Regions from separate parts of the Homo sapiens genome. Here region 1 is linked to region 2. The links are contacts of gene promoters, found by promoter capture Hi-C in blood cells and fetal thymus (Javierre and others, 2016). All regions are on one chromosome and are shown on one strand. The core of a region is centred on a gene start or on the middle of the fragment in contact, and the rest is flanking DNA. Distances in the headings are between cores, read along the strand shown. Region 1 overlaps LL0XNC01-250H12.3 (a long non-coding RNA gene). Region 2 holds the start of TCEAL5 (transcription elongation factor A like 5).

The links. The method cuts DNA at HindIII sites, captures the fragments that hold promoters and counts their contacts. A CHiCAGO score of 5 or more calls a contact.
Region 1: a contact is called between a fragment that was not itself captured here and the fragment with the promoter of TCEAL5 in region 2, in 1 of 17 cell types (naive CD4 T cells). The highest score is 5.1, in naive CD4 T cells.

The regions. Positions count from the first base shown.
Region 1 is chrX:103,492,199-103,498,577 of GRCh38, forward strand. All of the region lies in intron 5 of LL0XNC01-250H12.3 (a long non-coding RNA gene), which reads left to right. It also overlaps a transcript of RAB40A not described here. Among named protein-coding and RNA genes, the nearest start is that of RAB40A, 24 kb to the right of the region's middle. The HindIII fragment of the contact is 981 bases long and covers 3,702-4,682 here.
Region 2 is chrX:103,274,649-103,281,628 of GRCh38, forward strand. TCEAL5 (transcription elongation factor A like 5) reads right to left here and starts at 2,102. Exons shown (of 3, transcript NM_001012979.3): 1 at 2,025-2,102; 2 at 627-694. The HindIII fragment of the contact is 11,652 bases long and covers 1-6,980 here.

The DNA of each region.
Region 1 (6,379 bases), core at 2,942-5,441, 220 kb after region 2:
AAGAGACTTTATTCCAGTGAATAGTTTGCAAATCGGGGAGATGTAGCCTTCAGTATAAAATGAAGGTGTGTTCCAGAGGACAAAGGGAAGGTTTGTCTTTTATGAAGAAAATTCTCACCCAGGTTCCCACTCAGGTCAACTTATGCAAATGAAGGATTCCAACTTGCTTAGTTCTGATTGGTTGACATAGGTGAAAGCTTATTGGTTGGTTCAAGCACCATAAAAAGGAACAGGCAGCTATGAAAGTCCCAAAGTTAAGCAGACTTTCAGGTTTTCTGGGAACTCGAAGTCATGTGTGACCTCTACTCAGCAAATGGCCACTTGGCTCTAATTTGAATTTAGGCCCAGTTAAACACCCAGGATTTATCTTGAAGGACTGGTTCTTTCAGGCTTCACAAGGCCCAGAAGTAAAGGAAGGGAATTATCAGAATAGCAGTTCTTTTTACCATATCCTTATCCACATCCTTCCTTACATTCTGAAGATAAACTTGTTCAAGGGAAATTGTTTGTGCAAACAGTGTGTCCATATGTAGGTTTTTGATAAATATTGCCACACTGACACTCATCAAGGTAGTGCTATTTAGACTCCCTAAGTGAAGTCATGCAAGAAAACACACAGGGGAGTGAAGAAAGTAATAGTAATGACATCCTGTTAGACAGTAAATGCCCTATACTTTGTTGTAGACCTACTCTCAAGCCATTGCCACAGTTGGAACATGTGGAAGTGATCAGATGAAAATCAAACTTTACACCCGAGTAAAACCCGAAGTAACATGTGGGATAGTGTTAGGAGGGGAAAATCCTTGGAGGAACATATGACAAAGAGTCAGCAGGGCTGGGATACAGCTACCGTTTTACATGCATTCACATTTATATAAAAGATGTACATCACAGCCTTTGTATGAAAAAGTTTGGTCACTACTGTGGTACAACAGAAGACCAGGGCAATATCATATTTTTAAACGGCTTTCTTGTAGTATAATTTATGGACAATAAAATGCATGCTTTTGAAGATAGAATTTTGTGATTTTTAGTAAATGTATAGAGTTGTGCAATGATCTTCATAATTGAGGGTTTTAAAATCTTTTATTTTTAATTTTTGTGGGTACATAATAGGCATATATATTTTTGGGGATACATGAGATTTTGGTACAGGTAGGGAATGTGTAATAATCACATCATTAAAAATTAGGTATCCATCCCCTCAAGCATTTATCCTTTGTGTTACAAACAATTCAATTATACTCTTTTAGTTATTTTGAAATGCACACTTAAATTATTATTGACTATTGTCCCCCTGTTGTGCTACCAAGTACTAGGTCTTATTCATTCTTTCTAATTTTTTTATACTCATTAACCATATGCACCTCCCCTCCAGCCTGCCACCATCCTTCCCAGCCTCTAGTAACCATCCTTCTAGTCTCTACCTCCATGAGTTCAATTGCGTTCATTTTTATCTCCCACAAATAAGTGAGAACATGCAATGTTTGTCTTTCTGTGCCTGGCTTATTTTACTTAACATAATGACTTCCAGTTCCATCCATGTTTTTGCAAATGACTGAATCACATTCTTCTTGATGGCTGACTAGTACTCCGTTGTGTATGTGTACCACATTTTCTTTATCCATTCATCTCTTGATGGACACTTAAGTTGCTTCCAAATGTTAGCTATAGTGAACAGTGCTGCAACAAACATGGGAGTGCAGATGTCTCTTTAATATACTGATTTCCTTTCTTTTGGGTATATACCCAGCAGTGGGATTGCGGGTCATATGGAAGTTCAATTTTTAGTTTTTTTGAGGAACCTTCAAAATGTTCTACATAGTGGTTTTACTAACTTACATTCCTACCAACAGTGTACAAGGTTTCCCTTTTCTCCACATCCTTGCCAGCATTTGTTATTGCCTGTCTTTTGGATATAAGCCATTTTAACTGGGGTGAGATGATATCTTGTTGTAGTTTGGATTGGCATTTCTCTGATGATCAATGAAGTTGAGCACCTTTTCATATGCCTGTCTGCCATTTGTATGTCTTCTTTAGAGAAATGTCTATTCAAATCTTTTGCCCACCTTTTAATCAGTTTAGTTATTTTTGCTATAGAGTTGTTTGAGCTCATTATATATTCTGGTTATTAATCCCTTGTCAAATGGGTAGTCTGCAAATATTTTCTCCCATTCTGTGGGTTGTCTCTTCACTTTGTTGATTGTTTCCTTTGCTGTGCAAAAGCTTTTTAACTTGATGTGATTCCATTTGTCCGTTTTTGCTTTGGTTGCCTGTGTTGGGGTATTACTCTAGAAATCTTTGCCCAGACCAATGTCCTGGAGAGTTTCCCCAAAGTCTTGTAGTTTCATAGTTTGAAGTCTTAGATTTAAGCCTTTAACTGATATTGATTTAATTTTTGTATATGGCAAGAAATAGAGGGTCTATTTTCATTCTTCTGCGTATGGATTTCCAGATTTCCCAGCACCACTTATTGAAGAGACTGTCTTTTCCTCAGTATAGGTTCTTTGTTGAAAATGGGTTCACTGTAGGTGTGTGGATTTGTTTCTGGGTTCTTTATTCTGTTCCACTGGTCTATGTGTCTGTTTTTATGCCAGTACCATGCTGTTTTGGTGATATAGCTCTGTAGTATAATTTGAAGTGAGGTATTGTGATTCCTCCAGTTTTGTTCTTTTTGCTCAAGATAGCTTTGGGAATTCTGGGTCTTTTGTGATTCTATATGAATTTTAGGATTGTTCTGTTTCTGTGGAGAATGTCATTGGTATTTTGATAGGGATTGTATTAAATCTGTAGATTGCTTTGAGTAGAATGGACATTTTAACAATATTGATTCTTCCAATCAATGAACATGAAATACTTTTCCATTTTTTGGCGTCATCTTCAATTTCTGTCATCAGTGTTTTATAGCTTTCATTATAGAGGCCTTTCACTTCTTTGGTTAATTCCTGTGTATTTAATTTTATTTATGGCTATTGTAAATGGGATTACTTTTAAATTTATTTTTTAGATTGTTCACTCTTGGCTGGCATATAGAAACACTACTGATTTTTGTATGTTGATTTTGTATCTTGCAACTATACTGAATTTGTTTATGAGTTCTAATCGTTTTTTGATGGAGTCTAGGTTTTTCCAAATATAAGATCATGTCATCTGCAAACAAGGATAATTTGACTTCTTCTTTTCCAGTTTGGATGCCCTTTATTTCTTTCTCTTGTCTGATTGCTGTAGCTGGGACTTCATCGTTGAGTTTTAGACATTTTCATCACCCTAAGATTACCCATCCTGCTTGAATGCAGTTAATCCCTGTGCCCACCCCCAGCCCTAGGCAATCACAGATATGCTTTGTTTCTCTGTGGATTTGCTTGTTTTTGACATTTTATATAAGTGAAATCAAACAATATTTGGTCTTTTGCATCTGGCTTCTTTCACTTTACATAATGTTTTCAAAATCTGTGTTGCAGCATATATCAGTTCCTCATCCATATTTATTGCTGAATATACCACATTTTATCCATGTATCAATTGATGAGCATTTGGGTTGTTTCCACTCTTTGGCTATTTTGAATGATGATCCTGTATACATTCAGGTACAAGTTTTTATGTAGGCATATTTCTTTTGGCTATGTACCTAGGGGTGGAATTGCTGTGTCATATGGTAACTCCCTGTTAACCATTTGAGGTATGGCCAGACTATTTTCATAAGCTTGATTTCATGAGAAGTACAGGCATAACTTGTTTTTCTCATTATTAGACTGAGGTTATGGGTTTTCAGAAGGAATACCGCAGAGATGAATTGCCCTTTTTATCACACCATATATGGGTTTACATGCTACCCATATGATATCAATGGTGATGTTAACCTTCATCACTTGGTTAAGGTACTGTTTGCCAAATTTCTCCAGTGTGTGGTAACTATTTTACATTCCTATACTCTTTTCTGTAGAAGTAAGTCACTAAGTCAGCCCTGTTCTTAGGAGGTAGAGGACAGAATTAAACTTCACCTCATGAACTGAGGGTTAGCCACATATATTGTTTAGAATTATTTGATTGAGACAATTTGTCTTCTCTGACCCATTTCTTTGTCAATGGAAACACTTAATTTATATCAGTATGGAATCATGTACACTTATCATATAGTTGTGATAGTTTACCAAATGGAAACATTCCAAAAGGAATTCCAGAATTATGATTTGTGTGGTGCAGTAGAAGAATTCTGACCTAATCAGGAGACTGCAAGAGTTCCCTCTATCTACTATTATATTTCACCACCATTATATTACCAAATTATGGCATATTAAACAATCAGACAATGCTTTTAGGCAATATATTTAACCACGACAAATTTTGAAACAACATTTTAATTTCAGGCGATTACATTGCATACTTAGTAATTCCTTCAGAAAGAAATAAAACAATAAACAGAATTTATTGAAGTGATCATAAAAATATTGCTAACATGCAGTAAATCTATTTGCAAAATTCCTTTTATTGAAGCAATAGTATGGGATATGTTGGGGAAATGTTGTACTTCAACTGATAGCACAGTTCCTGTAGCACAGCCTTCACGTTATCTGACTGACTCTTATGGAAGCTATTTTACAATGCTAGCTTTTAGGTAAATATAGCATTGCAATATAATCTTTGTCTATACAAAAGCAACTGAATTTTGTCATTGCGGGGGAAGCTTTGTCTCCATATAGATGTTCATTTTAACACTCTTGATCTATAAATGGGACAAAGGGGTGGCTGTTGGTTTTGATGGGGTTCATTTCAACAGAGGGGTGCGGGAACAAAGCACCATTAGATGAGGAATGAGGACTGAGGTGGAGGGAGGTGCAAAGGGATGTGAGTTGAGTATTGAGAATTCTTCATAGAACTTTGGTTGCAATGGGAGAATATATGTAAAGAGAACAGTAACTAGGGTTGTAGAGAGAGGTCTAGGGTTTTAAATTATGTTTTAAAATTATCAATGATAAGAGGCTCTCTCAGGGTGGAAATATTAAGGAGAAGGAGCCATCTCTTCTTAGGTCTAGAAACTGAGTTTACCACAACCCCCTTACTTCCTTGTTTCTATTCTGGGGAAGTCTAAAACTTAACCAGAGGGATGGTGTCATTTGACTTTAATGCCTGTTAACTATGGGGATGGATAGATGGATGGATGGATGGATGGATGGATGGACAGATGGATGGATGGATGCACGATGTGTCAAACAGGTGCTGGTATTTTATCTTCCAGCACTGAGCTCCTCACACAGGTGACTGAACCCGTGGTTTTGGTGTCTGAGAAGATGCAGCTTCTCCAGTCTCTGCAACTGACGGCAGGAAGATGGGAGCACTCAGCTTCAGTGTTCAGAAGCAGATTTAGGCCAATTGCCATACCTTACGTTCTGGAGGGATCCACCCTGACCTGAGCAGGTGAGGTCACAGAAAGGCTTGCTGTCCATCACAGGGACAGGATTACAGCCTGCTCAGAAGCATGTTGTGGTCCAGCTCTTGTGTCACTTAAAAAGACTCCAGCTCTTCTCTAATATTGAATTCAACTAATATCACAGAGAGATGTTCTTAATCTTCTAGACAAACACACTGCCATCAGTATTCCCCAGAGGCCACAAACACACCCTGGAACCATAATGCCACCAGTAGCTCTAGGAGAACTTGCAGGCTAATGTGCCTGTTGCTCATTGTTTTTAGGCTACATATGAAAATGGACCAGTTTGCAATAAAAATATAATGCAATGATGATTATCAGAGCATTTTGTATACTAGGGAATTTTTTAAGTTATCTGAACATCAAATTAAATATAATGACAATGAAAGAATTTCCACCTGTCATATCATCAAAGTATAAAAAGAAACCATTCAGGATTCCAGTAAGGTGGGCATGCGGGGAAGCCTACCCTGTTTCATATTGGTGGTGGGGATGTCATTTAGTACAACCTCTTTCAAGGTTGATTTGGTAATTTCTATTAAAGACTCTATGCATCCCCGATCTGCATGTGTTTGGGGCCTGCTCCTTCAAGTATTCACCCTCAGCATGGCCCCTGTCCCTCTGAGAGTGCATATTCTTCCTGATACAGGAACTGTCTGCGGACTCGTTTCTAAAGCAATGGCCCAGACACACTCCCTTGTCTACAGAGTAGGAAATTTAGGTCTGACAAGGTTCTCTGTCTTTCATAAGAGAGACAGAACTGGCAGCCTGGCTTCAGAGCTGAAGATACAGATTTCAGTAGTGACCCAGGTCAGCAGGAAAGCAAGATTTGCTTGGTTATGTTGTGATGTGCAGCTCAGCATCACAGTCTGCCTGGGGGCATATAGGATGCTAGTCTCTGCTTTTCCACTTAGTGGCAGGATGCTCCCCAGCCAGGTTGCTTAACCTGCA
Region 2 (6,980 bases), core at 852-3,351:
TTATAGTACTTGTCTTTCTTAACTTAGGGTTTTCCTGGCCCTATCCCATCTTCCAGGTGCACTCCCACCCTTACATTCCTTCCTTTCCTTTTCACTTTACACATGTTCACACAAGCCAACCTTACAGAAACTTCCACAGGTGCTTCTCCCTACATTTAAGGAGGATGTGCTGAGAAATGCGTAGGAGCATATTGGCCCTTAAACTTTGCTCTGGCCTTGGCTATGCCTACCCATACCAATTTTAACTGGGTAGTTCCAATTTACACGGACCTGCAGAAATCCTGGGCAGTTTTCTTCTTTTTCCCCTTGCATGCAGTTGTAAGACTTATAAAACTGCAGACAGAACAGAACCATAGCCAGTTCTCAGATTTCAGGGCTACCCTTATGTCCTCAGGGGGCATCACAGATGCTACACCTCCATTCTCTTACTTTCTTATTCTCCCCTCTATCCTCACCAGCCATAGATCACCATATCCCCTTAGGGTCTTGACAGCAGTCATGTATCCCGAAACTGCAAGAGGGAGGATTGGAGGAGGGGTGGCAGGCAGTGGCCTCCCCAACTTCTGCTCTGGCTTAAGTTACTCCTACTCCCAAGGGTCCTGGTGCAGTAGCCCTCTCCCACTGACCTGCACCGATACTGCAGGTCTTTCCTTTTCTTGTCTGGGTTAGTGCCCACAACCACAGACTTGAAGACCTGCAGAAAGACAAGAAACAGGTGGGTGAATGAGAAATTGAGAAAGTGAATGACTGGTAACTTGGACACTGGTTCTTTGGGACCGTATTTGTCAAAACTTTCCGAGCTCCTATCACCTCCTCGCCTTTTCCCTTGCATTCTCTGATTCCCCCTCCGCGCGCAGCTCTTTCTTAAGAGCCTCCATTGTTCTACTTGTGGGAAATAGGCGAGAAAGATTATTTCCAAAGCGTTTCTATGTTTCTGAATCTTCCTCCCAAATTTTTATCTCACTTTTCTGGCACGAAAATGAGTAGGGTTAGAGACAAGGATGTTCTGAAGACAGAGTGTTCTGATGCACTCAGATCTCTACATTCCAAATCCCTCACCCTAGGGTAGCCAAATAGCAGAGCCCACCACTTCTCTGAAAATGGTGATGACAGAGATAGGGGGCAGGGCAGAAATGTCCAAAACACTCCTGCCACCTCCTCCCTCCCCACATACACAGAAAGCCCACATTTTTCTGCAATGCAAGAGACAAATTATTTCCAAACCCGGTAACATTTTTGGTCTTGCTGCTACCTCATCTCAATCCTCCTACTTCAGAAGCCACTCCTCCTGGATAGGGAGCTGATCCCCAGATCAAACCTCTGTCTCCCTTTTTCTACAGCACCTCCTTCCCCTGACCCCCTTAGCCCACCGTTTCCGGCTCCAAAATGGAGGGAGGTTGGAGAAAAGACACAGGGAACTCAGGCCTGGACCCGTTGCAGGGTCCGCCCTCAGCAGCCTGGGGTCACTGACTGTGCCCGCCTCCCGCTGCCTTGCAGGGATCAGGCCGTTTTCTCGCCGTTTCGTCGCTGTTCTCTTCCCTGGTCCTCCTCCTCCTCCATCAGACATCACCCGGTCGCCGGCTTCCTAGGAGTTCCCAACTGGTACCCAATTCTCAACCCTTGACCTCTCTCGAGTTCCGCCCCCCTCCCCCCTCCCCGCCCCGCACCAAGCCCTCCATTTCTTGCACCAAATGAGTGAGCATCGGGAAAGGAGTGGAGAGAATCCAGTCCTGGACCCGCTCTGGTCTTTGCCCTCTGCCATCCCAACCACAGGGATCCACAGGCTGTGGATGGGTTCGTAGCCATCTCGGGGAAATGACTCTTTCTCACATTTCCTTCTGCCAGAAGCCTGCACTTCTCCAGGGAAATAAAAGCTGGTACCCATACCTCTTGCCCAACACAAAAAAATTTCTGCGCCAAAATGAATGGGGGTGGAACAGGGCGGTATCTAGAAAGCAGATCCGATCCTCTGTAGCCTATGTGCATTACCATCCCTACCTCAGGGGTCCCCGGCTTGTACCGACCTGCAGGGCTGTAGGGCAGTTGCCTTCTCTGTCCTTCAGTCTGAAGTCTGCCTTCCTCCACGGAAACAGGGATCTGGTACCTGGAGGAGAGGGACTTCTGCACACGTCGGCTTCAGATCACGTGAGAAAAACGTCACCAGTGGGCTCGGGTCCCTAGTTCCCCTCCCACCCGCAGAAAGTGCGTCAGGAGCCAGCCCACTTCTTCCCTTCACTAGTCTGTCCGTCTGAGCGCCCTCAGCACCCCCAACCCCGGCTTAGCTCTCTCTCTCGCCCCACAGCACGGGGCCCTGTCACTCATTTTGGTCTTTGCTAATCCCACAGGTCAAATGTGGCCCTTTCTCTGTGTAGTATGTATTTATTCTTCCGTGGTTATCAGGGAGGGACCGCACCTTCTTCTAGAGCTATTGGCCATTGGTACATCTCAGAGGAATTTTTTTTCTTTCTCTCCTTTTATCCGAAGGCACCTACTCGATCTAATTCTACACGCAGCCACTGATGTTCATTCTGCCTGTGAACCAGACCTTCTCATAATGGGTACAAGGTGGATTGTCAAGTAGGGACACAAGTAGTTAAAATAGGGGTTTTATTTTTTTAAATTTTTTTGATCTTATTTAATTCACTCTCCTCAGCATGGGTTATTCTTATAAGCACAAAATTAAATAAAGCTATTTCATTTATGAGAAAGTGTTTAAGAGAGAGAAAAACTTAAAAGATTTCAAAATTTTCTACTCAGAAGAGAGACCAAATTAGGTTCATAATATTAACTTTTGCCATATACACAAGGAATTCAATTGGCAACAAGCAAAATATACATTAGAAATTTTTCATAAATAGCTGGTTCTCTCACGTTCTATTTAACACACACACACACACACACACACACACACACACACACACACACACACATTTAATGTTCCCAAACGATTACTGAGTGCTAAATAGACTTGCTGGAATCTGATGGTTGAAAGAAAATTCAAAAATGTCTCTTTAAAAAATTTGGCTCATGGCTATTTTCATTCAAATGTTTAGCTCTAGGGGAAGGGAAGAGCTGTGAGACCAAGGCTGCAGGAGATGTGAAGGATGCAGAAATGGTCCTATCCTCCCTGCCCTGCCAAGATCAGGGGAAGGTGTTCTTCTCCACCCCCTCATATTCTAGAATTTCTCATCCCCTGCATTTCTCATCCCCAGGCACATGACTCTGTTGCTCAAGAGTCATCTGTCCAAGAATATAACTGGACAGGTGACCAAGGTGGTGATATGAGTAAATGCCTTTGGCTCCTTCCCTCCTCCCTCCCCCTAATTCCCACAGGGATAACCCAGCCCCAGCACAGAGTGGAGCATTGTTCATGCCTCTAGAAAACTAGAACAGATCTCTTCTAGACCCTTGCAGCTGAGGGTGTTCATGAGGCCTGAAGTGATTGCTGGGGTAGAGTCCCCTGCAACCTGCCTGCTCTCTGCCCTTATTCACAGTGCCTGAGTGGAAGCCTCCCTAGACCCTGTCTGTTACCTCCCGCCTAGCCTAAAAAGTGCAGTCTGGCGGGCCTCTCACCCCCAAACTCTGTATCTTCAGGGAACCCAGAGGGAGCCTAACCTTGCTGCAGGATTGCTGCCTGCCAGTCCATACTAACCTATGACTGTCTCAGCAAATTTAGGCCAGTGTCTAAGGAGTTCTGCCATGCTGTCCATATTGACCTAGACCAAGTATTCCCAATTGATGAAGTCTGTGGGCCACCTGAAAGGGCATGTAAAATTGCATATGTTTAGGAAGTAGTGGAGTATGCACACTCTTGTGAGAAGAAGATCTGTACCCTAGGAGCCTGAATAGTGTTTTGTTCTATTTGCACACCCCATTCTGTTTATCCATCATATGTTGATGAATATTTAGGCATTTTCATCTTTTAGCTGTTATAAATAATGCTGCCATATACAATCACGTATAAGTTTTTGTGTGGATGTATGTTTTTATTTTATATAAGCAAGTTGACATCATGAAAAAGAGGAAACCATAAAGGACAGAAAGAAGAAGCTACTTGACAAAGAGATAAGAAGGGGAAGACACAAATAGCAGCTGAGCCATGTTAAAGAGAGCTCATCTATTCCTTGGGTTCAGGCATTATTAAACTATGAATCCCCTAAAATTATGTTCAAACTTGTGTGTGTGTGTGTGTGTGTGTGTGTGTGTGTGGTCGTGGTTTCACTCTGTTGTCCAGACTAGAGTCCAGTGGTGCATTTATAGTTCACTGTAGCCTTCAACTCCTGGGCTAAAGGGATCTTCTCACCTCAGCCTTCTGAGTAACTGGGACTACTGGTGCACGCCACAACTCCCAGCTAATTTCTTTAAATTTTTGTACAGACAGTGTCTCCCTACATTGCCCAGGTTGGTCTCCAATTCTTGACCTCAAGTGAGCCCCCTGCCTCAGCCTCCCGAAGCACTGGGATTACAGGCATGAGCTGCCGCACCCAGGCTGGATATATACATTTTTATTGTATGTGCACATTTGCTGAGAATAGGTTCCGTTGCTCTCATTAGATGTTCAAAGGGGTATGTAATATTAAAAAGATGAAGGCCATTGACCCAAAGAATATACTTCTGTATACATTTTTTTCAAATCGTGCTATCTTTATTCTCTATTTAAAAGAGAAATTCACATAACATAGAATTAACCATTTTAAAGTGTACAGTTCAGTGACATGTATAGTACACTCAAAATATTGTGTAACCATCCCCTCTATTTAGTTCCAAAACAGTTTCATCAATCTGAAAAGAGACCCCATACCCATTAAGCAGTCATTCTCAATTCCCTTTTCCCCCTAGTCCCTAGCAATGACTTATCTGCTTTCCATCTTTATGAACTTACCTATTCTAGATATTTCCCATAAATGGAATTGTACAATATGTGACCTTTTGTGTCTGGCTTCTTTCACTTAGCATAATGTTTTCAAGGTTCATCTACATTGTAGCATGTGCAATACTTCATTCCTTTTTATGAATTAATATTTCATTTTATGTGCATACCACACTCTGTTTATCCATTTGTATGTTGATAGATATTTGGATTGTTTTTGCCTTTTGGCTGTTATAAATAATGCTACCATAAACAATTATGTATAAGTTTTTGTGTGGGTGTATGTCTTTACTTCTCTTGCATATATAGCTAGGAGTGTAATCATTGGGTCATATGGTAATTCTATGTTTAAATTTTTGAGAAACCGCCAAACTGTGTTCCACAGTAACTGCAACATTTTGCATTCCTATCAGCAAGACTCCAATTTTACCATATCCTTGCAAACAATTGTTAATTTCTATTTTTTATGTTTATCATCCTAGTGGGAGAGAAGTGGTTTTGATTTGCATTTTCTTAATGACCCATGATGTTGAGTATCTTTTCTTGGGTTTGTTGGATATTCGTATATTTCCTTTGGAGAAATATCTATTCAAGTGCTTTGCCAATTTTTATTTTTTATTTTTTAAATTTTATGTTAGGTTTGGGGACACATGTGCAGGTTTGTTTCATAGGTAAATTGCATGTCACAGGGGCTTGGTATACACTTTATTTCATCAGCCAAATAATAATCATAGTACCTAATATGTAGTTTTTTAATCCTCATCCTCCTCCCATCCTCCACCCTCAAGTAGGTCCCAATATCTATTGTTCCCTTCTTTGTGTTCAGGAGTTCTCATCATTTAGCTCCCACTTGTAAGTGAGAACATCTGGTATTTGGTTTTCTGTTCCTGCATTAGTTTGCTGAGGATAATAGCCTCCAGCTCCATCCATATTCCTGCAAAATACATGATCTTGTTCTTTTTTTATGGTTGCATAGTATTCCGTGATGTATATGTACTATATTTTCTTTATCCAATCTGTCATTGATGGACATTTAGGTTGATTCCATGTCTTTGCTATTGTGAATAGTGCTGCAGTGAACATTCGTGTGTATATGCCTTTATGGTAGAATGATTTACATTCCTCTGGGTGTATACCCAGTAATGGAATTGCTGGGTCAAATGGTAGTTCTGTTTTTAACTCTTACGGGAATCGACACACTGCTTTCCACAGTGATATTGAGCTTGCATGTATGTCTTCTTTTGAAGTGTCTGTTCATGTCCTTTGCCCACTTTTTAATGGGGTTGTTTTTCCTCTTGCAAATTTGTTTAAGTCCCTTATACTTGCTCGATATTAGACCTTTGTCAGATGCATAGTTTGCTAATATTTTCTCCCATTCTGTAGGTTGTCTGTTTATTCTGTTGATAGTTTCTTTTGCCATACACAAGCTCCTATGTTTAATTAAATCTCGTTTGTCAATTTTTGCTCTTGATGCAATTGCTTTTGGTGTCTTTGTCATGACACCTGTGCCCATTTCTATGTCCAGGATGGTGTTGTCTAGGTTGTCTTCCAGGGTTTTTATAGTTTTGGGTTTTACATTTAAGTCTTTAATCCATCTTGAGTTGATTTTTGTATATGTTGTAAGGAAGCAGGGATCCAGTCTCAATCTTCTGCATATCCTTACCCATTTTTTAATTAGGTTGTTTGGCTTTTTGTTGTTGAGTTGTAATAGTTCTTATATATTCTGGATATTAGTTCCTTATTTGATATATGGTTTGTAGATATTTCCTCCCATTCTATAGGTTCTCTTTCACTTTCTTAATAGTGTCCTTTTATGCACAAAAGTTTTTCATTTTGAAGAAGTCCAATTCATCTATTTTTCTTTTGTTGTTCATGGTTTTGGTGTCATATCTAAAAATTTATTGCCAAATCCAAGGTCATGAAGATTTACCCCTTTGCTTTCTTCTAAGGGTTTCATAGTTTTAGCTCTTGCATTTAGGTTTTTGATTCATTTTGAGTTAATTTTTATATGGTGTAATTTAGGGTTGTTTTATAAGATTTTAAGATTATTTTGATGGCAGGACACAACACACGGTCACTTGGAAAAATGAAAGGAAGAACTTTTGTTACT